Regions from separate parts of the Homo sapiens genome. Here regions 1, 2, 3, 4, 5 and 6 are each linked to region 7. The links are contacts of gene promoters, found by promoter capture Hi-C in blood cells and fetal thymus (Javierre and others, 2016). All regions are on one chromosome and are shown on one strand. Each heading gives the region's core, a stretch centred on a gene start or on the middle of the fragment in contact. The rest is flanking DNA. Distances are from core to core; before and after follow the strand shown. Region 1 overlaps LARS2 (leucyl-tRNA synthetase 2, mitochondrial). Region 2 has its middle 10 kb from the start of ZNF852. Region 3 has its middle 23 kb from the start of LARS2. Region 4 overlaps LARS2 (leucyl-tRNA synthetase 2, mitochondrial). Region 5 overlaps LOC105377062 (a long non-coding RNA gene). Region 6 overlaps LARS2 (leucyl-tRNA synthetase 2, mitochondrial). Region 7 holds the start of CLEC3B (C-type lectin domain family 3 member B).

Region 1 (2,700 bases), core at 30-2,529, 500 kb after region 7:
AGCCCCGAGTTTGAGGATGCTTTGTGTGCCCTGATGGTAATGGCTGCTCCACTGGCCCCTCATGTAACCTCAGAGATCTGGGCAGGTACGTGGCAGAGTCCTTTTTTGACCAGTTACTACTAACTAGAATTTGTCGAAGCCTCTTTTTGAACATCATTCGGGACTCAGATGTCCTCAGATATAGGGTCCAACATTTGGCATCTATACTCAGCAACCTCTCTGTCCTGTACTCTGAATGGTAGTACTTCATCCACATGGTCACCCCTACCAAAAGGAAAGACACTTCCCTGCTTTGAATAATGTGCCCAGACTAATGTGGGTGTTGATGTTACCATCTTAATCCCTTCTCGTGACTCAGCCCCCCAGTATCCACATATTATGACCTGCGTGGTCTTTTTAAGATAAAAACTCATGTTTAATACCACTGTACAGGTGGAAATTAAGTTATAGGTCTAAACTTACACTGTAATTCAGCACTCTTCACCAATTATTCCTAATCTAGGCATCAAAGCAGGCCTGACTGCCTGCTTGAATTTCAGCCCCTAGAACCCTCCACATCATTGGGACTGTTAGCCTGGACAAAACCAGGACTTCACATAATCATCGAACTGGGATTAGGCCAAGCATATAGGGAGGGGCAAAGTGACATGTAATTGAGCTCCTGAAAGATCATGCATGCATGGGAAAGTCTTCAGATGTTTCTAGAAATAGGTCATCTGAAATGCATGTGACTTGGCAGTTTCGTTGACGTAAAAGATTTCTTCTAAAAAAAAGATCTCTCCTAATTAAATTTACTGATGTGGTGTCACAGAGAAGAAATGCATGTTGTTTAGTTGAGCAAACCACGAGTCTCAGTGTAAGCTTGAGTGATAAGAAGAATTTGAGGATTATTTGAAATTCCCACCACCCAAGCAACTTTATGCCTACAGGAAATAGGTGGAAATTACAGTAGGATTTATAGTTGACAGAGTATTGCCTGTGTCTCTCACAAAGCCTTGTTTATTGCCTTCTACTTTAAAACATAGTACTCCTTGTTGATTTGAGGGACTCATTGGGAATTGGGCCCTACCATCTCCCTCAGAGTTGCTTCTTAATTCCTCAGGAGGAGCAGTGGTTCCTTTTTCTTTTTAGCTAAGATGAGACTTATTTTTCCAGGGTCCCCTTTTTTACAGTATAAGTGTCTCTGTCAAAAGGAAGTGTTTTTCATTCCTTGAGGAAAAGCGAATCTGTTTTATTTCGCTTTCATTGTAAACCCATGAGCTTAGTTTGGATTTTTATCCTTTTTGATATCTAAAGCCACTTTAAAATTAAACTTGTTCAGCCAAATATTGAAGTTCACGTAGTGGGAGGATTTGCCAGCCAGTTTTTTGTTTATGTACCATATCTACAGTTTCTGACTTTAAGCATCAACCAAAAAAGTGGAAAGGGCTTTGGAAATCAGGAACTAATCCTAAAACCTGGGTAAGGATTTGGATGGGTCTGACTCTGAAGTTTCCTTTGGTTCATTCTTTGCTGCTTGCAAGACTGAATCAAGGTCCAGTTTACTTTAGCAGGAAAGAGATGTGGTGTAGCTCCCAACAGATTCTGCCCTACTTTATATGCTTTAAGACATCCTGATTGAGTACAAGTGTATTTCATTGTGTCTTAAGTCATCTTCTGGGTCTTTCCAGTTACTCTTTTAGTTACCCTTTTTAAACCAAGCTTTTGCAACTCCTGGCCCCCTCCAACAGGTGGCTTAGTTGGAAGAAGTCAGAGAGGCCTGGGTTGAGTGTACCCAAGATAAGTCTGAATTCTATATTAATTCCTGTCTTTCCATTCTGGAATTCGGGAAGTCCTTAATAATAGCATGCAGAGCTAAACACAACCACATAGCTTAAATACTAGCTACCAGTCAGTGTCAGATGCCTCTTTCATAGGGGTTGCAATTTTAAGTGACAATGAGGTAGTGCAACTGATTTAAAGTAGGAGGGGAAAGAGAGAGGAGGAGGAGAAGGCAATTATAAGGACTTCATGAGTTGAGCAAGATTTTAAACGTAAAGACGAAGGAGGTGAGGAAAGATGGGAAAAACTGAAATGTGTTTTCAGTGGATCTACAGGGGAGACAGTTTTTAAGTTTCTCACATTTTGAATCTTTAAGGGAGACAATTTTTGAGTCCGATTTATGTTAGAAACCTCTTTATACAATTAAAGAAATCATACCATTGGATAATCAGAATTGTTTTATCCTTTTTGTTCTAAGGAACCTCTCAAATGAACAATTTTGTTCCTATCAAAAGTTCCCCAAAGGGATCACTGTCATTCCAAATTGTCTTTGGAAATTTGTGGCACTTAAAAAGATATGCACAGGAGTTAGGGCTGTAATTAGAAAACATAAAGAAAGCCTGTGCTTGTGGTGGAGGAGGCAGTTTTAGATTGAAAAGACCAAGACATGAGCCGCAACATATCCATGGGTTGCTGCTTGTGGAATTTTGCATCTTGGTGCTTGATCAAAGTCAAGTCATCATTGATCAGGAGCCAGACAAAGCCTCCTGCTTATCGGTAGACAAAACTAACATAAAAGCAGTTCTCAGGAACACAAGAACAAGACTGAGGGAGAAGTCATTATGAGATTTTGCAATGGTGACTCGGGCACAGCGTGTCTCCAAGAAGTAACTGACTGACCACTTTACCACTTCACCCTTAGGGCTAGCTCAAGGACAA
Region 2 (2,952 bases), core at 98-2,597, 510 kb before region 7:
AACTGGCCAGGCGCGGTGGCTCACGCCTGTAATCCCAGCACTTTGGGAGGCCGAGGCGGATGGATCACGAGGTCAGGAGTTCAAGACAGCCTAGCCAAGATGGTGAAACCCTGCCTCTACTGAAAATACAAGAATTAGCCAGGCATGGTGGTGGGCGCCTGTAATCCCAGCTACTCGGGGGGCTGCGGCAGAGAACTGCTTGGATCCGGGAGGCAGAGGTTGCAGTGAGCCAAGACCGTGGCCACTGCACTCCAGCCTGGGTGACAAAGTGAGACTCTGTCTCAAAAAAAAAAGAAAAAAAAAAGAAAGCAAACTAAAGTGAATAAAATAGTCGGTAAAGGCTGTATTCAGCTTATGTGTGTATCAGTGAGCACCTCGAAATGAGGCAAATCTCTGAGCCAAAGAAACATTGGAGTTTTTGTAAGGTGAGAAGAGAAGGCTACAGATTGTGCTCTTGCTTCTGGCTACAGTTTTCTTTATGTGTAACTGCTGTGAAGCTTAGGGTTGGAATGGAAGCATGTGTTCGATTATTAATGCCTGTTTCTCTGGATCCTTGGTGCAATTTCTTTTTGGCAACTCTCAGGACACTTCTTTGGAGAGCTATCTTTGTAAGTTTTGCAGGTCGTCTGTTATAAACTAATGCTAGTTAAGGTTCAGGGGAGTGGGGGGATAGATGGGTGGATCATTTGAGGTCAGGAGTTCGAGATCAGCCTGACCAACATGGTGAAACTCTGTCTCTGCTAAAATACAAAAATTAGCACCTGTAATCTCAGCTACTCGGGAGGCTGAGGCGGGAGAATCACTTGAACCCAGTAGACGGAGGTTGCAGTGAGCCAAAATCGCACCACTGCACTCCACCTGAGTGACAAGAATGAGACTTCCTCAAAAAAAAAAAAAAAAAAGAAAAGAAAAGTAAGAAAGAAAAGAAATGAAAAGACAGCAAAGGCAGGGGAGAAGATTTTTTTTTTTTAAAAAAAAAAGGAAAAGAGGCAAAGTTCTGAAGAAAGGAAAACTGGAATCTATTTTAATTCTTTTTTTTTTTTTTTTTTTTTTTTGAGACGGAGTATCACTCTGTTGCCAGGCTGGAGTGCAGTGGCGTGATCTCAGCTCACTGCAACCTCTGCCTCCCGGGTTCAAGTGATTCTTCTGCCTCCACCTCCCAGGTAGCGTAGCTGGGGCTACAGGTGTGCACGACCATGCCCGGCTAATTTTTGTATTTTTAGTAGAGATGGGGTTTCACCATATTGGCCAGGCTGGTCTCTAATTCCTGACCTCATGATCTGCCCGCCTTGGCCTCCCAAAGTGATGGAATTACAGGTGTGAGCCACTGCGCCCAGCCTATCTTAATTCTTTTAGAGGACAGAGACATTCTAGAGAGACAGAGTGGGACATTTGTCCTGTATCACTGCTGAACTCCAGACACCTGCAGTGCCCATGTCTAGGCTCTGTTCTGCTTCCTTGTGGGGACACACAACAGAAGAGAGACAGTCCCTCAGTGGCACAGACATCCTCACCACTACTGCTATAGAGTTCAGGAGCAGGAGAACGAGGCACAAACAAATAAAGAAATAGACCTTACAGGAGCTCCCGAGTTCCCATCATCCCCCAGAGAAGAGTGCTTAAAAAGAAAAATACCAGGATTCCACCCATCATGGAAAGGGCTCCAGAAAGATACTGTGCCATCCCACAATGGTCTATGTATCAATAGGGATCACCCACAGACACCAGCAAGGTGCTTGCCTATGTAAATGGGAGCTTCCTGCAGGGAGGTACAGCTTTTGTTAGCAGAATCTCAACTTCAAGGCTGGTATCAGCCTGTTTTTTGCTAAGCCCATTCAGATCTGCTGAGCCAATTCTCCAAGAAGGGAGAAAAGCGGGAGGGAAGAGGAAATAAGCCTCCTGAGCCAACTGGAGTTCTCACTCCACACAGTGAATTTGGAGTGACTAATACTGAGGGGCCAGAATAAATGAGGGGCTGATGGAAGGCTGGCAGTTCAGGTCCTGAAGGTCTTACTGAAGAGAAAATGGATATAATGGGTATGAAGGAGGTAGGGGGATCTCCTTTTGGACTTGGCATATTTCCTGTGAAAACAAAACACAGAAAAACCAAAAAACAAAAATACCCTTATCAAGGTTCTTCAAGAGGTTGAAACAAGTTCTATGAGACCTTTCCAAGGCAGATTTCAAAATCCCCTATGAAGCTTGCTGGCCATGGCATTAAACAAATTGGAGTTTAGATTAAGCTCTTTAAGTTCTTTTTAGAACATATGTAACCAAGACTTTATTAAAAGAATCATAAGCTGTTTTACTTTTTTTTTTCCTTCCTCCATGCATGCTTGCACATAGTCACTTCAGTAGAGGGTAGTCACTAGTAATTGATTAATTTCATATCCTAACCCCTGTGGCTGCCTGCAAGATTGATAAACTTGTTTTTCTTTCTTTTTTTTTTTTTTTTTTTTGAAACAGAGTCTCGCTCTGTTACCCAGGCTGGAGTGCAGTGGTGAGATCTCGGCTCACTGCAACTTCTGCCTCCCGGGTTCAAGCAAGTCTCCTGCCTCAGCCTCCTAAGTAGCTGGGATTACAGGTGCACACCACCACGCCCAGCTAACTTTTGTATTTTTAGTAGAGATGGGGTTTCACCATGTTGGTCAGGCTGGTCTCGAACTCCTGACTTCGTGATCTGCCTGCCTTGGCCTCCCAAAGTGCTGGGATTACAGGTGTGAGCCACCGTGCCTGGCCTTGTTTTTCTTTTAAAGAACAAGGAGACCAGGCATGTGGCTCACACCTGTGATCCCAGCACTCTGGGTGGCTGACAACACAAGAGGATTGCTTGAGCCCAGGAGTTTGAGGCCAGCCTGGGCAACAGAGGAAGACCCTCCCTACAAAAAAAAAAAAAAATCAAAAAATTAGCTGGATGTGCTGTAACTCTAGCGACTCAGGAGGATCACTTGA
Region 3 (3,047 bases), core at 304-2,803, 340 kb after region 7:
TTGTCATCTTCCCCTCTGGTGGGAAAGGGATCATTCAGTGTAAGAATTTGAAGGTCTGCTGTGAAAGGCAATCATTATTAGACAGAGAAAGGCTGGTTTGTCTTACATATTTAGAAACTATGTTTGGGAGAAGGGAGAAACATGAAGGGTAAAAAAAGACTGAGGGAAATGAGGTGGGAGAAGAGAGAGAGAAAGACTAGAAAGAAGGGGCTTGAGGGAGCTCCTCAGATACTTATTCTGATTGATCCGAAAGGCGATTAGTTCAGCTGTGTTTGGTACCATCCTCTCTACTTGGGTGTGTTTGTCAACAGCCACCAGGAAGCCACTGTCAGGCGAAGCACGTGCTGGCAAGCCCTTCCAGCCACTGAAGGATGTGGTGGTGCAGTTACATTATTGTTGTTATTCCTATCAGCTGACCAGTTCCCCAGCTCCCTCCTTGAGCCTTGTGCTTGTTAAATTTTTTACAGACACAATCTCTACACCCCATAAGTTGGGCAGCATAAGAAACTAAAGCCTACTTGTTCTCTATTCGTCTGCTGTATAATTGGGCCTGGAAAATACTTAACTAGGTCTTTGGGAGCAATACATAATTTGCTGTCCTCTGTATATAAGCTGAACTGCTGATTGAGGATCAAAGGAGCATGATCATTGATTTAATTAACTTATAGACTACTTGGTGGGGGGCAATAGACATACACATGAAGTCGGGGGCTAATTAACCCTACAAGAATATAAGAGACACTAAAAGTCACTATGACTAAATGCCCAATTGATGGCAGAAATGTAAGAGATATAGGATCCATTAAAAGTTCTTTATTAGAATTGCAGATATCACCAAAAGATGGGCAAGATACATTTAATACATTTGCAAATAAATGTGTGTCACCTATAACCCATTCTTAGACTAACAACAACAAATTCTAAATATCTGCAGGTCAAATGTAACTCAATACTGTTTTATAAAATACAGTATTTCTTCAAATAGGATCATCTTTTTCTAGAAGCAATCACAAGGCCTAAGGAGATTTGCAGCAATGGAAAGGATTTTTTTTCTCCCCTGTAATGAATAGATTAAAAGCTTAATCCCAAGGTCTGTCTCTGAGTCCAAGTATAATTGTGGTATGAGTCATTCTGAATGGGTTTTTTCATATACACTCAGCACTGTAAGGCATTTAGGGGAAAGCATCAAAGTTTTGAAAGATAATAAAAGAGACAACTTTCAGCAAACCTTGTGACCCTGAAAGGGATGCCCAAGATGAATCCCTTTCAGTATCAGGCTCCTAAGAAAACACTGATTTTACTTCAGGACACTTGAGGCCTGGATTGTCTTGTGAGGAGTTTCAGAAGGGCATCCACTCCTATATTCCTAGTTACTGACCTGTCAGATGCTGGCTTTGCAAAGATCGTCGTTAGTCCTTTGGCTCATCAATGCCAGGCCTATCCTGCAGGTCAGCGTGAAGCAATGTGAAAAAATGGTCCATCCAATTCCTGAGTCTATTCCCAAGAAGCAAGGCTTACAGATAGTGGGAAATTGATTTATTATCAGTGCTTAAAAGAGAATAATTTAAAATTTTCTTGGGGTTCAGAAGAGTAAACACTTGAAATAAGACCTGTTTGGACATTGCATGGGTGAAGTGATGCTCTAAAGAAGTTGAGGCTCAATTTGAGGAAAACCAGGACAGATGACCTTCAGAGCAAGAAACAAAGCATGCCTTTCATCTTTACCTTTGTGCATGGAGGGGAAAGATTGACTACATGGGATGATGGCTAGTTGACAGGCCTGTTGCTTTTTACTCAACAGACATTTAACTCGTATTTATCAAGCAAGTATGTGTAGCAAGGATTGAGGGAGGCAGCCCAGCTTTAGTGGTTAAGAGCATGAGCTCTGGAGCCAGACTGCCTGGGTTCAAATCCCAGTCTAGCACTTGCTAGCTGTGTGGTGTTGAGTGGTTTTTCTTAATCTCCCTGGGTCCCAATTTCCTCATCTGCAAAACAATGATCATAGTACCTATTGAGAGGGTTTGTTATAAAGCTTAGATGGATTAATATTTATTAAGGGTTTAACACACTGCCTGATGACACATATTAAGTGCTCAACAAATATTAGTTGCTAAGGTTGATAGGTGCTGTGTCAGATGCAAAGATAAATCCAGAAGAGGGAGATAGCCAGGTACAGACTTTACACACAAATGGTGTCCACATAAGAATGTTGGGTTTAAATTGCTTTTTTCCCTATCTTGTATCTACGTTCCATTCAGAAAGTAACAGGAGTAGAGGGCTGTCCCCTGGACTGGGGCCTAAGAGAAGGTATAGGGAACTCAGGGAGAGGCTCCTCCTCAGAGAAGTCTTTTCTGCAGATTCATCCAGTTCAGCAAGCATGAGCCCTGGGGCCCCACCAATTCAAGGAGGAGCTAAATTGGCAGATGTTTATTGAGCCAGGACTATAATCAAGGAAGCTGGCTGGCTGCTGCAGGAATGGAGAAACAAACATTTACTGAAAGCCCCATGTGCCAGGCATTATATGAGGCATTTTCCATGAATTATTGTACTTACAAGTGGCACCATCCCTAAAAGGTAGGCATTCTCATTTTTACCCTATTTACAGGTGAAAAAAATCAAAGGTAGGTGATTTGTCCAAGCTCACACATCAGCAAGTGACTGAGCCTCAATTCTTCCCCAGAACGGTCTTCTTTCTGAGCTTATTCGCTTGCTATGGTATTTCCCGGGGTGTGTACAAGACTCAGTTCATGCCCTCAAAGAACTTACAGTCTGGCAGGAATATCACAGATGAAAACTCCGTACCATTTCTTCCTCCACTGAATGGTCAGTAATAGGGAGAGATTTCTTCCTTTCCTATACAATCTTAGTATTTTTTTTTTCTTTTTTTAGGTGAGGTCTCACTCTGTCACCTAGGCAGGAATGCAGTGGCACGATCTTGCCTTGCTGCAACCTCCACCTCCCGGACTCAAGCGATTCTCCCACCTCAGCCTCCCAAGTAGCTGGGACCATCGGTGCACACCACTACGCCTGGCTAATTTTTTTGTATT
Region 4 (2,836 bases), core at 127-2,626, 370 kb after region 7:
TGGTTCCGTTAAAGGTTTGTTTAACTTCTTTGCTGAAAGAAGTTTACGAACTCCTTGGCAAGAATCTGATTTCTGGTTTCTTCTGCTCTACTGATTATATTTGGTTTATGTGTATTATCAGTCATGCGAACATTCAGCAAACAATATTTAAAAACCCCATCCCACATATGTACATAAAAGAAGGGTTATGAATATTCTGTTTCGTGTTTGTTTGCATTACTTCAGGGGAAGCAAATTCTTAAAGAACTGGAGTAAAGTTCTAGCAAGGGAATAAGGCCAGGAAGAAAAAACAGAAGGCAGAAATAAATAAAAGCAGAAGTTCTGACCCTTAGTGACGAAACAGAATCAGTTACCCAGTTACCTGTTGCTCTTCCTTTCTCTCCAGCCCCTCCACCCTTGACCCTGTCATGAGATGATTTAAACTTGGGTGTGGGGAACCCTCCTATTACTTGGGTAGGATTTGTGAAGTTTGCTGGGTAAAAAGTGCTCCATAGGGGCCAGTTATCAGGCTTTTGGAGCACAAAGGCCAACGAACATTTATCCAACATTTTATGAAACTCCTGCTGGCACTGGGGGCAGACGTGGAGAAAGAGGTGACTAAAGCACAGTTCTTGCCCTTGAACAGTAGGTCCCCCCATGAACAGTAGGTCCCCCCAGTAGGAGTTAATTCAAGGACTACCATCTTTGTTTGCCTTATCCATTCATGTGCACACTCATGACGACATTCATCATTTTACCAGGGGAAGAATTAAGATGCCAGAAGTCAGTGATCCAATAAGGACTCATTGGCCTGTGTTCCTTCTGTTCAGATACATGTACAGTTGTCTATGTTTCTCATGATGAAGCTGCTTCTTTGGAAGCTGGAGAGTTATATAACCCTGGTCTGAGGCTGCTTATTTATCATCCCTGGAGAACAACAACCTTCTCCCTTTTTAAAAGGATCTTCTCATTACCTTCCCATTTCAACATTTTTGTTGAAAGATAGGCTCTCAATACAATGGGGAAACTCAGGACCCAAATTGGTACTTTAGGATCCTGTTATTACTGCTAAACCTACGTCAGAATGCAGCTATAGAGAATTTAGGAAGAGACTCCATTTTTAGAGATGTTACATCTATGTGATTCAACTATTGCTTCTTTGAATTATATGGATATATGTATGTTAGAGCTTCCTTCGGAAAAACAAACAGTTCTTTAAGGACCTAGATAGAAGCTGTCTTAAAAGAGAAGTGTTTTTTTGTTTTGTTTTGTTTTGTTTTGTTTTTTTAATGGAGTAGCCATTCTTTTATCCCTTTACTTTCCTAATAATCTTGCTTTCGCTTTCTTCTACAGACTGGCGCTGAATTCTTTCTTGCGTGAGATCCAAGAACCCTCTCTTCGGGTCTGCATTGGGACCGCTTTTCTTTCTTTCTTTTTTTTTTCCATAGGTTTTTGGGGTACAGGTGGTATTTGGTTACATGAGTAAGTTATTTAGTGGTGATTTGTGAGATTTTGGTGCACCCCTCACCCGAGCAGTATAGGCTGTACTCTATTTGTAGTCTTTTATCCTTCACCCCCCTTTCCACCCTTCCCCCAAAGTCCCCAAAGTCCATTGTATCATTCTTATGCCTCATAGCTTAGCTCCCACATATCAGTGAGAACATAAGATGTTTGGTTTTCCATTCCTGAGTTACTTCATTTAGAATAATAGTCTCCAATCTCACCCAGGTCACTGCAAATACTGTTAATTCATTCCTTTCAAAAAATAAGTTTTTAAAAGAGAAAAAAAAAAGATATATGGGTACTTAACACTTAGAGGTTGTTTGGCATTATTTTGGACATTCTTTAGCTTAAACCAGGGCTTTGAATTTTGCTTTTTGACATTTTAATTGATTTACATTCTGGGAACACTCTTTTTAAAAGGAAACTTTTAAAATGTTAAATTATTACTTTGTGTAAAATGCCAAAATATTATGTATACATGCAGAGTTCCCAGAAAATGCTTAATAAATACTCATTGTCGTTCTTTCCTAGAAATCGAAGCCAAAATTTTACGTGCTTTCCATGTTCCCTTATCCTTCTGGTAAGCTGCACATGGGCCATGTGCGTGTCTACACCATCAGCGACACCATAGCACGGTTCCAGAAGATGAGAGGGATGCAGGTAAGAACAGGTGCCTGCTGGAGCAGCCCTTGTCTGCCACACGCAGGGTTGGCATGTAGTAATATGTGTTCAAGACAAATGAAGAAAACCAACTTTAGTTAAGATTAGGACAGCTTTGAAGATGGACATGAAAAGCTCAGTGTTTCCTTTTATGGATTAGATGATATTATAATAAAGCATCTAGGTTAATTGGGGGGCAGCCATGAGTTGGGTGTTGTGCTGGGGTGGAGATCAGATGGGAATGGGGTGAAAGGTAGATACAAATGTGGATAACACTGATAATCTTCCCAGGAGATACTCACCCATGAGTAGAGAATCATTGTATATAACGAACTGAGGTCAACAGTACAAATACACATCAGTGCTATGAGTGGCAGGTGAGACTGCAAGATATTTCTTTCTGTTCTATTTGATATTTTCCATATTCTTTGAGCATGTATTTCTTTTCTTTTTTTTTTGAGGCGGAGTCTTGCTCTGTCGCCCAGGCTGGAGTGCAGTGACGCAGTCTCGGCTCACTGCAACCTCCCCCTCCCGGGTTCACGCCATTCTCCTGCCTCAGCCTCCCGAGTAGCTGGGACTACAGGTGCCCACCACCACGCCTGGCTAATTTTTTGTATTTTTAGTAGAGACGGTTTCACTGTGTTAGCCAGGATGGTCTTGATTTCCTGGCCTCGTGATCCGCCCACCTTGGCCT
Region 5 (2,709 bases), core at 196-2,695, 320 kb after region 7:
AGTATATTTCACCTGGAATAAAACAACCTGTTGTTTATTCTTAAACCCAGACACACATTGCTTTGCCACCATGTATACCCCATTTTATCCTTCCAATACATTTAGCCAGCAATTGATGGGGATTTTCCAGAGCAATGTTCAAATATCAAATATCTGAGAGGTTGGACATCCTATCCCCAACAGAATAGGGCCTCGCAGCTAGAACAGCCCCTGGCATATAATAGGTGTCTAAAAACATTTGTTGAATGAATGAATGAAAAATTATTTTACTAGGAGATACCCAGAACGAGTCTTGCTGATACCCAAGGAGTGAGTAGGTCATTGCATATTCCCTGACCACCCCTAAAGTGGACACAGTGTGGGCAGGGAAAGGAAATAGTGCCCCAGGTCACTGCCCTGGAGGACCTGACTGTGTAATTTTAGAGGGAAAAATGCACTTGGAAGTTATGTAAGTTAGTAAACTTGCATCAGAAACAGAGCAGTGAGGAGGCAAACGGGGTAGTCCATCTGAAAGAGATGCCATTCACTCATCAGAACTGCTCTGAATGCTTCCTTAAAGCTGGTGGCACACTGGTGGCTGGGGGATGATGACTCCTGAGCTCACCCGCTGTCCTCCCACAGTCTTGAGCCTGGTGAAGTGGAGAGACGGGGAGAGGAATGCCCAGAGACAGAAAAAGTGTAGGTTTTAGACTTGAAAAGATATTGATTTAATTGTGTTTCCCTTAAAATTAAGGTAGAAATTTGATCAAGAATTAAGGAGCAAAAATTCTATTTTTAAGTCCATGAAATTTAGTTTATGAAATCTACTTTTAGAGCCAAGGCAGAGAGTGTAGATTATGTAGTCCACCCCACTACCCCTTTATTATTGGATGTGGAAACAGAAGCTCAGATCAGCCTAGGAGCTGTTTTCCATGTAAGAAAGAGGGTTTATATGCCTCAGGCAAGGAGTTCGCAATCTTTAGACAGTCATATATGATGGGAAGAGCATACAATACGAGAACTATTTTCACTGCGGTCATGGAATTTTATTGACTTTTAAAATTTCATACATCCTTAAAGCTGAACATGAGATTTGTGTGCTTTTTCAAAGTGAGAGTATACACCTGACCCAAGCTTCTTCAAAAGTATCATGGTCAGAAAAGATAGGGAAAGGCCCAGACACTGCCCAGATCAGAGGACACTGGGAGATATAATGACTGAATGTGCCCTGAGCAGTGTACCATGAGGATGTAAGATGTTATTAATACTAGAGGAACTTTGATGAAGGGCCTACAGGAATTTTCTGTACCATCCTTACAACTCTCTTCTATAATTCTCAAATTATCTGAAAATAAAAAGTAATTATCTGAAAATAAAATTACCTGAAGGAGAGTATGATGTGTTAGACTGTATTTTCTACAAATGGTTGCGACAATGTTTCTGGTCCCACATGCTCTCCTAAAGTTTGCCACTCCCTCATCAAGAGGTGGAGCCCATGTTCTCTCTCTTGAATGGGGACAGATTACTTAACTTCTTTGTGTCTCAGTTGCCTCTGTAAAATGGGGAAAAAATACTAGCATTGTTTTTATTATTAAATAAGGGGATATATCAAAGCACTTAGGCCATGCTTGGAAATGTTGGATGTCATTATTATTGCAGGACACAAGTTAGGAACCCAGTTATCAGTACTGGGACACACTAGTCAGAGCTGAACAACAAAAGCAACTTAATACTGAATCCCTGAAGTTTCTTAAATTCCTTCTGCTTCAGGGGATAATTCTTCCTGGGTTGGGGACACCAAGCTTGCCAGGGGGATCTGGCGGGAATGGGATGGAGAAGACAAACACAGAGACCAGAAATGGACATAGCATGTAGTGCACTTGTTTAGGGAAGGAGTAAAACCCCAAAGTCTGGGGTGATCAGGAATGGTGTCAAGGAGATGGTGATCTGAAGTTGGACCTTGAAGGCTGGCTCAGGTGCAGGTGTGCAGAAAGGCAGGCGAAGTTAGCAGAGGTAGAACACGAGGCGTGTTCTCAGGATCTGCCTGACTGTAGGTAGGGGTTCCCACAGATGAGCTCCAGGAGATAGAGTCAGAAAGGTAAATTGGGGCCAGGCCTTGATTGGCTTTGAATGACCTACTCAGGAGTTTGGGTCGCGGAACAACCTAAGCAGAAGACACATTTCAGGAAGTGAAGTCTGGCAAAGGGTGAGCTGGATTGGAGAAAGAGGAGAAGAGAGAGAGAGAGACACCAGGTGGAGGTGAGAATTGACAGGAAGTTGAGAGAGGCTGGGAATGTGGTGACCAATTCCCTGCCTGGTCCTCGCAAGCAAAGAGCAGGCAGTGGTAGGGGTGAGGTACAGTTTTAGTGCTTGGGTACAGTTTTAGTGCTATTTGCCTCAAGTTATCCTTCTTCCTTGATTTTTACCAGTAGACAATGGTAAAAAATAATCTGTACATTTCATCATTTAAAGGCTGATGGACTCTTGCCATGAACTCAAAGATTCCTGTCAATTTCATAAGCACTCCGTAGCCAAACCCTCTTCCTCCAAGGTCACACAATCCATCAAATGGCACAAGGTGGAGCTTATACCTGAGACTGGCCACTCAGGGCACTAAATCAACATACTGATGGTGATTGGTCCAGAGGTTGTCCTTGGACCCCAGTGAGGCCAATCAGAGTCCTTTCCTGGGATTGTAAGGACTTTGTGAGAAAGAGGGACCCCTTGTGG
Region 6 (3,064 bases), core at 426-2,925, 420 kb after region 7:
GAGGACTTAGCGGAGAGTGGCCGTCAGTGTCTTGGTTCTGGCAGATTTTCTCATGAGCCTGTCTCTCCCTCTTCCAACGCCGCAGGTGTACAGAGCTGTGGACTGGAAGCTTGAACCATCATCAGTGAGAATCATCTGATGTAGCCTGGATTGTTATTTTCTCTTTTAAGCTGCACAATAGGAATGCCAAGGCTAGTTTCTCTGCCTTTGAGCTGTATTATGCTTTTAGAATCCCTCCACTTTAGAATTAAAGTACCTGGGAAGGCATAAAAGACAAAGCCATCACTAAACATGTTTCCTTTTGATCTGTTGCAAATGACAAAAGTGCACATTACAAAAGATCAAAAAGCATGTGAACAACTCTCCTCTGTTTCCAAGACTCATTGTTTTGAAGGCAGGAGGCTCACAATGAGACTTGGGGAGGTGAAGTGATGCTTTGTTGCTAGAAACTGTGATGTGCAGTGGCCGCTCACCTTTCTGACATGCTTACAGGGCCGCCGGATGATTGACTTGATAAACATGTTGCCTCGGGTTTTTTGTTTTGTTTTGTTTTATTAAATTCCTGGTAGCTAACCTAAATATCCTGAGGTTGTGATGCCACCAAAATACATGACAGCTTTGAATGAGCTGTTCTGAAATCTAGGGCCATCACTGTCAAAGTGGACCGAGAAACCAAGACTAAATCCTGCCCAAGCAGCAGTGTGGGGGTGGAGGCAACCTAGCAGGCCCTCCCAGCCAGAGCTGACTGGGAGCAGCCTAGTGTGGATTTCTCCATCTGGTCATGTGTTTTGGTCTTTCCCTCATAAACACCATCTCTTTTTAGTCGAAAAGCCAATATTTGTTAAGGAGCAGAACACTATTTTTTACCCCAGTTCTTTCTCTCCCTTGTGCCTTACCCCAGTAGGCTGATGGGTACATCAGCCCACCTCTGAGTGGTACGGTAATGAAGCCAGCCTCACTCACCCCTGCCATCACACACTCTTTTTTTTTTTTTTTTTTTTGAGACGGAGTCTTGCTCTGTCGCCCAGGCTGGAGTTCAGTGGCACAGTCTCGGCTCACTGCAACCTCCACCTCCAGGTTCAAGCAATTCTCCTGCCTCAGCCATCCAAGTAGCTGGGATTACAGGCATATGCCACCACGCCTGGCTACTTTTTGTATTTTTAGTAGAGACATGGTTTCACCATGTTGGGCAGGCTGGTCTCTAACTTCTGACCTCAGGTGATCTGACTGCCTTGGCCTCCCAAAGTGCTGGGATTATAGGCATGAGCCATTGCACCCGGCCCATCACACACTGAGTAAAGCCAAGGGGTGTACTTGTTGATTTTTCCTGCAAGCCCAGCCGTATGCTTTGCACACAATTGCCTTTTAACCTCACAGCAACCCTCTAAGATGTGTTTCATTGCTTCTGTTTTCTAGTAGGGAAATGTGGTGTGGCCACAAACTAGTGAGGATGCGAGGACTTGAACCCAAGTCAGATGGCTCCAGGGTCTTTCCTGAGACCATACTCTCCCAGGCTCTTTCCTGGAGCAAGGAGTGTGAGCCTAAGGAGGCTTCAGTGGGGCACATGGAAGGTGGCTGAGTGCTGTGATTCTTCCTTCACAGACCAAGTATTATTTTATACCAGGAACAGTAAGGTAGGCCTCCGTGCCTCAGCCTTCTTAGACTTTATCACTGATGAATCGCTGTGTCTCAGGAGCTGCTGGCCAGACTGGCTTAATTGTTAATTTGTGCAGAGTCATTGAGGTATGGGTGGCAGGTCGCAAAAGATGATGTTTTGAGCCTCACTTGTGTTCTAAGAGAGCTCAGATTGTGTGTTGGGCTCTGTGGTTGCCTGTGAATGTGCAAAATATTTTTAATGCTAAAAACCAGGTATTACAGAATGTAGAAATGCAGCTTGGAGGAACAATTCTAGTTGGAATCCCAGATTCGTAAATTTGGTCTCTTGGCAGCTAGATTGCACTTTCTAGAGCTCAGGAAGATATAAAAGTTGACACTTTTATGTAGATTTATGTGGAGTGTGGCTGAATTGCCAATGCTTTTGTAGCTATAACTTTGAATTGCCTGACTTTTGTATTGAAAACAATGGTGCATTAACGTAGGCGTTGGCTTATTTGAAAAGCAGGCCAAAGGAAAAGACTTTTTATTTGACTTCTGTGGTGGTCTCCCTAAGGAGTCTTACCCACAAGCTATCCCACAGCTTGTGGGCAGATGTGAGCAACAGGAAGCCCCACCCCACAGACACAGGGTTCCCCCTTGGAGTTGCAGGCAGGGTTCAGTCTGGAATTTGGGTGCTGTGGGGCAGATTCTCATAGATGATCTTTAAACGTTTAGTTGTTCAACAACTATTTTATGGGAAGGGATGGACTCATGTTGTATCAAGAAAAACTGTATGCAACTTCAAAATAGGAAATTTACTACACAAATTTATTATGTAGATTTTCCAAGTCAGACAACTACTTGGAGGCACATTAAATGATTTAAAATTTAGGTAGTAAAATCAACCACTTATTACCAGTGAATAGCATTATGCACACATAATAGAGTTTCAGAATTTTATCTGCCTGCAACCCCAGACTTGACATGTCTCTCCCCTGGTTGGTCTCCGAGTTGGTAGAAGGCTTGGTGGTCGCATCATGCAGCATTCCTGTGTGCGCTGCAAGTCATGCTTAACAGAGATAGGGCTACCCCCGATGGAGAAGGGCAACTCACTTAACCGCCTCCATCTTTCCACTTTTGCTCATTGATGTTTAACATGTTATCAGTATGTATAGAATGGCCCCCAGAGAGTTGTTTGATTGATGCTTCTTTAATCAGCCTGTGATTATAGACTCAAACTGAAGAAATCTGAACTCACAGATCGGGGTTTCTCCACCTTGGCGCTATTGATTGACATTTGGGACTGGGTGATTATTTTGTTCTGGGGACTGTCTTGTTCACTATAGGTTTTTAAAGCAGCATCCCTGGCCTCTATCCACTAGATGCCAGTAGCACACATACAGCATACACACCCCAGTTGTGACAAACAAAAATGTCTCCAGTATTTGCCAGATGGTCTCTGGGGAAC
Region 7 (2,787 bases), core at 184-2,683:
AACATCCCATTGAAGAACATCAGACTTTCAATGCGTTCCCTTACTTACTTATATCTGTGTGCACTGGTGGTTTCCCATCTGTTACTGTCACTATGTTGGTGCTCAAATTGTCCCTGATTCTGACCACTGAAGGCTCCTTCAAGCTGGCTCTGTGTCCTACTGACGTGTTCCCATTATTCATTAAGCACTTCCTTGTTTTCTGGCAAAACAACAAGTTCCGGGCTCATTTTCTGCACCCCACTCCTACTTCCCAGTGCTAGAATCAGCCGTTTCTGCAAGGTGCTCTGGTTCCTTTAGTGGAAAGTCATATTCAGAAGCCAGTATTCAGGTGCTAGGAGTGCTCCAGGCTATGCGGGGCTGGCTGCTCCAGGCCCCCCAGTGACTGTGGGGACTAGACACACACACATTTCCATCTATATATATGGACTTATCTTTATGTATTCAAGGCCACAAGGGTACACTGATCATTCCGATTTTAATCCCACACAACAGGATTCATTCCAGTTTTCTCTCCATATACATAACTTCCTTCTCTGACAATAGGAAACCTAACTCCCACTGTCTTCAGTAGATTTATTTGATCAGTATCCCTGTGTGTAACCAATCTCCCGTCTCTGCCACCAGCCTCTCTCCCACATGGATCCCCTCCTTGCCTCACTTGGACTCCAGCACTCCAGGCAGGGCCTTTGCTTTCCCCAGGATGCTCCCTCCACCCTGCTGGGCTCCCACACCCCACACCAGTCCACCCCTTGAGGGCACATTCTCCCCACATCCTCTCTGGTACCTCTGGGGCACGATGGCTTCTCCCTCCGCCACCTTTGCTATGCCCCACTTTGTGGCTTTAGGACAGGACTCAGGAGAAAGGGAAGACAAGAAGGGAAGGAATCCCTTGGATTTTTTAACCAAAAAATGCATCAAGTACATGGAGACAGAGCCACAAAATAATCATAACAAATATTCTAAACCAATCAGACAGCCAGCCCCAGATCACCCTATAAGGGGGCATTGCTACCCCGTGACAGCTGGGTAGCCTGGGCAAATTCCCTAACCTCACCGAGCCTCAATTTCCTCAATGGTAAAATGGGGAAAGGACAGTGCTTCCCTCGTGGTTTGGGTGTGAAGCTTCTGTGAGTTAATGTTAGTGAACAGCCAGCCTCAGCCCCTACCCAAGGTAGCTGCTCCGCAGATGTGATGACAACCACCGTGTGTTTCTCAGAATCCTAGGAAATAAGGGCTTCTTTCTAGAAGGCAGGGCCAGGATGCTGCGTGGGTGTTCCCTGGCAGAGAGGCTCTGTGGCCCTCAGGACTTCATCCTTCTGCAGGCTTGTGTGTTTGTTTTATTTTTTTGGCACGCCTGCAGCCAAGTTGGGGAGGGTTTCCTGGACAGAGGTCCTTTGGCTGCTGCCTTAAGACGTGCAGCCTGGGCCGTGGCTGTCACTGCGTTCGGACCCAGACCCGCTGCAGGCAGCAGCAGCCCCCGCCCGCGCAGCAGCATGGAGCTCTGGGGGGCCTACCTCCTCCTCTGCCTCTTCTCCCTCCTGACCCAGGTCACCACCGAGCCACCAACCCAGAAGCCCAAGAAGATTGTAAATGCCAAGAAAGGTAAGGAGGGGGACAGAGCCCTGTGCCATCTTCCAGGGAGCAGGTCCCCCTCTCCTTAGTGTGTCCTCATGCTCCTTTCCTTCATTTTCCTCCTTTTGAGTCATCTAGGGAACTTGAGTAAAGTGGGCTTTGGGGCTTGGGGGAGTTCTCTCATAGCAGAGTTGGTTGTCAGAATCATAAGAATCCCTGACCCTTAGAGTTGGGAAGAACCTTCCAGATCATCCAAACTGATCTTTGCTCTTCTCTCCTCCCCTCATCCCCAATATTTTAAAGAAACCAAACCTTTGGCCTGGGAGTCTGGCAGCGCTCAGCCCTTACCAGGGAGAGCTGCACAGGCTGGGCTTTGGAGTCTTCCAACCTGTTTTCTCAACTGTAAAATGGGGACAGTGGTATTTGTTCAAAGACTTCTCATGAAGATTTTATGATACAAAATATATAAAGGCACCTCACTTGTTGCTTGATGCACAGGGAAAAGAAAAAGAAGAAGAAATGAATTCTCATTTCTGTAGCATATCACAGCCTTCAGGAAATAAATGTAACTCAGACTAGTCCACCAGAAGCAGCTTTGCTCTGCTTTGTAGCCTCTGGGGATTGGGGTGTCCCTCGGTTGCTTTGGCTACAGCAAGACTTGCCCTTGCAGCCCCGCCTGCAGTGAGGTCACCCCAGGCTGTGTTGAGACAACATCAGTGGAATGTCATGGCAATGGACGGGGCTGTCACCCCCCCAGGGAGCAGAGGCTAGAAGAGAGTCCAAGGGGATGAGGGTGGGGACTGAGGCAGAGAAACAAGCAGCTAGGACCAAGGGCACAGAAAAGGAAAGAAGGGGCTGTGGGGGCCTCCCTTAGGCCCTCCCGGGGCTCTTCATAAATGGACAGTTGCCCACTGGCCAGGAACTAGTGCAGTGCATAAAGGGACATCGGGGCCATGGGGCCTCACAACACTGTGACAAAGAATGGGGCAAATCTGGCTGCTGATAAAAAAATCATCTTCAAGATTCAGTTTACAAAGTGAAAAAAGAAACATTCAAAAGAGAATGAGTATGATGCTGACATTTGCTTTGAAAAAGGGATTTATATAATAATACATTTTTACTTGTATGTGCATAAGTTCTTTCTGGAAGGATCCACAAGAGTGAGTAACAGTGATTACCTCTGGGAAGAAAAACCAGGGGCTGGGCGCAGTCTCA

The links. Contacts are between HindIII fragments. The CHiCAGO score rates a contact against its expected background, and 5 or more counts as called.
Region 1: a contact is called between a fragment that was not itself captured here and the fragment with the promoter of CLEC3B in region 7, in 6 of 17 cell types (endothelial precursors, M1 macrophages, monocytes and 3 more). The highest score is 7.5, in endothelial precursors.
Region 2: a fragment that was not itself captured here is called in contact with the fragment with the promoter of CLEC3B in region 7 in 1 of 17 cell types (endothelial precursors); the score reaches 5.0 in endothelial precursors.
Region 3: a contact is called between a fragment that was not itself captured here and the fragment with the promoter of CLEC3B in region 7, in 1 of 17 cell types (megakaryocytes). The highest score is 5.5, in megakaryocytes.
Region 4: a contact is called between a fragment that was not itself captured here and the fragment with the promoter of CLEC3B in region 7, in 2 of 17 cell types (neutrophils and activated CD4 T cells). The highest score is 5.5, in neutrophils.
Region 5: a fragment that was not itself captured here is called in contact with the fragment with the promoter of CLEC3B in region 7 in 1 of 17 cell types (erythroblasts); the score reaches 6.4 in erythroblasts.
Region 6: a contact is called between a fragment that was not itself captured here and the fragment with the promoter of CLEC3B in region 7, in 1 of 17 cell types (M1 macrophages). The highest score is 5.1, in M1 macrophages.

The regions. Positions count from the first base shown.
Region 1 is chr3:45,524,024-45,526,723 of GRCh38, forward strand. LARS2 (leucyl-tRNA synthetase 2, mitochondrial) reads left to right here. Exons shown (of 22, transcript NM_015340.4): 20 at 1-85. Among named protein-coding and RNA genes, the nearest start is that of LARS2-AS1, 16 kb to the left of the region's middle. The HindIII fragment of the contact is 840 bases long and covers 860-1,699 here.
Region 2 is chr3:44,519,555-44,522,506 of GRCh38, forward strand. No RefSeq gene overlaps it. Among named protein-coding and RNA genes, the nearest start is that of ZNF852, 10 kb to the left of the region's middle. The HindIII fragment of the contact is 1,704 bases long and covers 496-2,199 here.
Region 3 is chr3:45,364,108-45,367,154 of GRCh38, forward strand. No RefSeq gene overlaps it. Among named protein-coding and RNA genes, the nearest start is that of LARS2, 23 kb to the right of the region's middle. The HindIII fragment of the contact is 954 bases long and covers 1,077-2,030 here.
Region 4 is chr3:45,398,232-45,401,067 of GRCh38, forward strand. LARS2 (leucyl-tRNA synthetase 2, mitochondrial) reads left to right here. Exons shown (of 22, transcript NM_015340.4): 4 at 2,014-2,142. Among named protein-coding and RNA genes, the nearest start is that of LARS2, 11 kb to the left of the region's middle. The HindIII fragment of the contact is 7,408 bases long and covers 1-2,836 here.
Region 5 is chr3:45,341,491-45,344,199 of GRCh38, forward strand. It overlaps LOC105377062 (a long non-coding RNA gene), which reads right to left. Exons shown (of 3, transcript XR_940798.2): 2 at 1,362-1,531. Among named protein-coding and RNA genes, the nearest start is that of LARS2, 46 kb to the right of the region's middle. The HindIII fragment of the contact is 668 bases long and covers 1,112-1,779 here.
Region 6 is chr3:45,440,043-45,443,106 of GRCh38, forward strand. The region is part of intron 6 of LARS2 (leucyl-tRNA synthetase 2, mitochondrial); the gene reads left to right. Among named protein-coding and RNA genes, the nearest start is that of LARS2, 53 kb to the left of the region's middle. The HindIII fragment of the contact is 3,137 bases long and covers 108-3,064 here.
Region 7 is chr3:45,024,870-45,027,656 of GRCh38, forward strand. It overlaps CLEC3B (C-type lectin domain family 3 member B), which reads left to right and starts at 1,434. Exons shown (of 3, transcript NM_003278.3): 1 at 1,434-1,602. The coding sequence starts at 1,494. RefSeq lists enhancers at 1,814-2,315, 2,316-2,787. The HindIII fragment of the contact is 8,892 bases long and covers 1,121-2,787 here.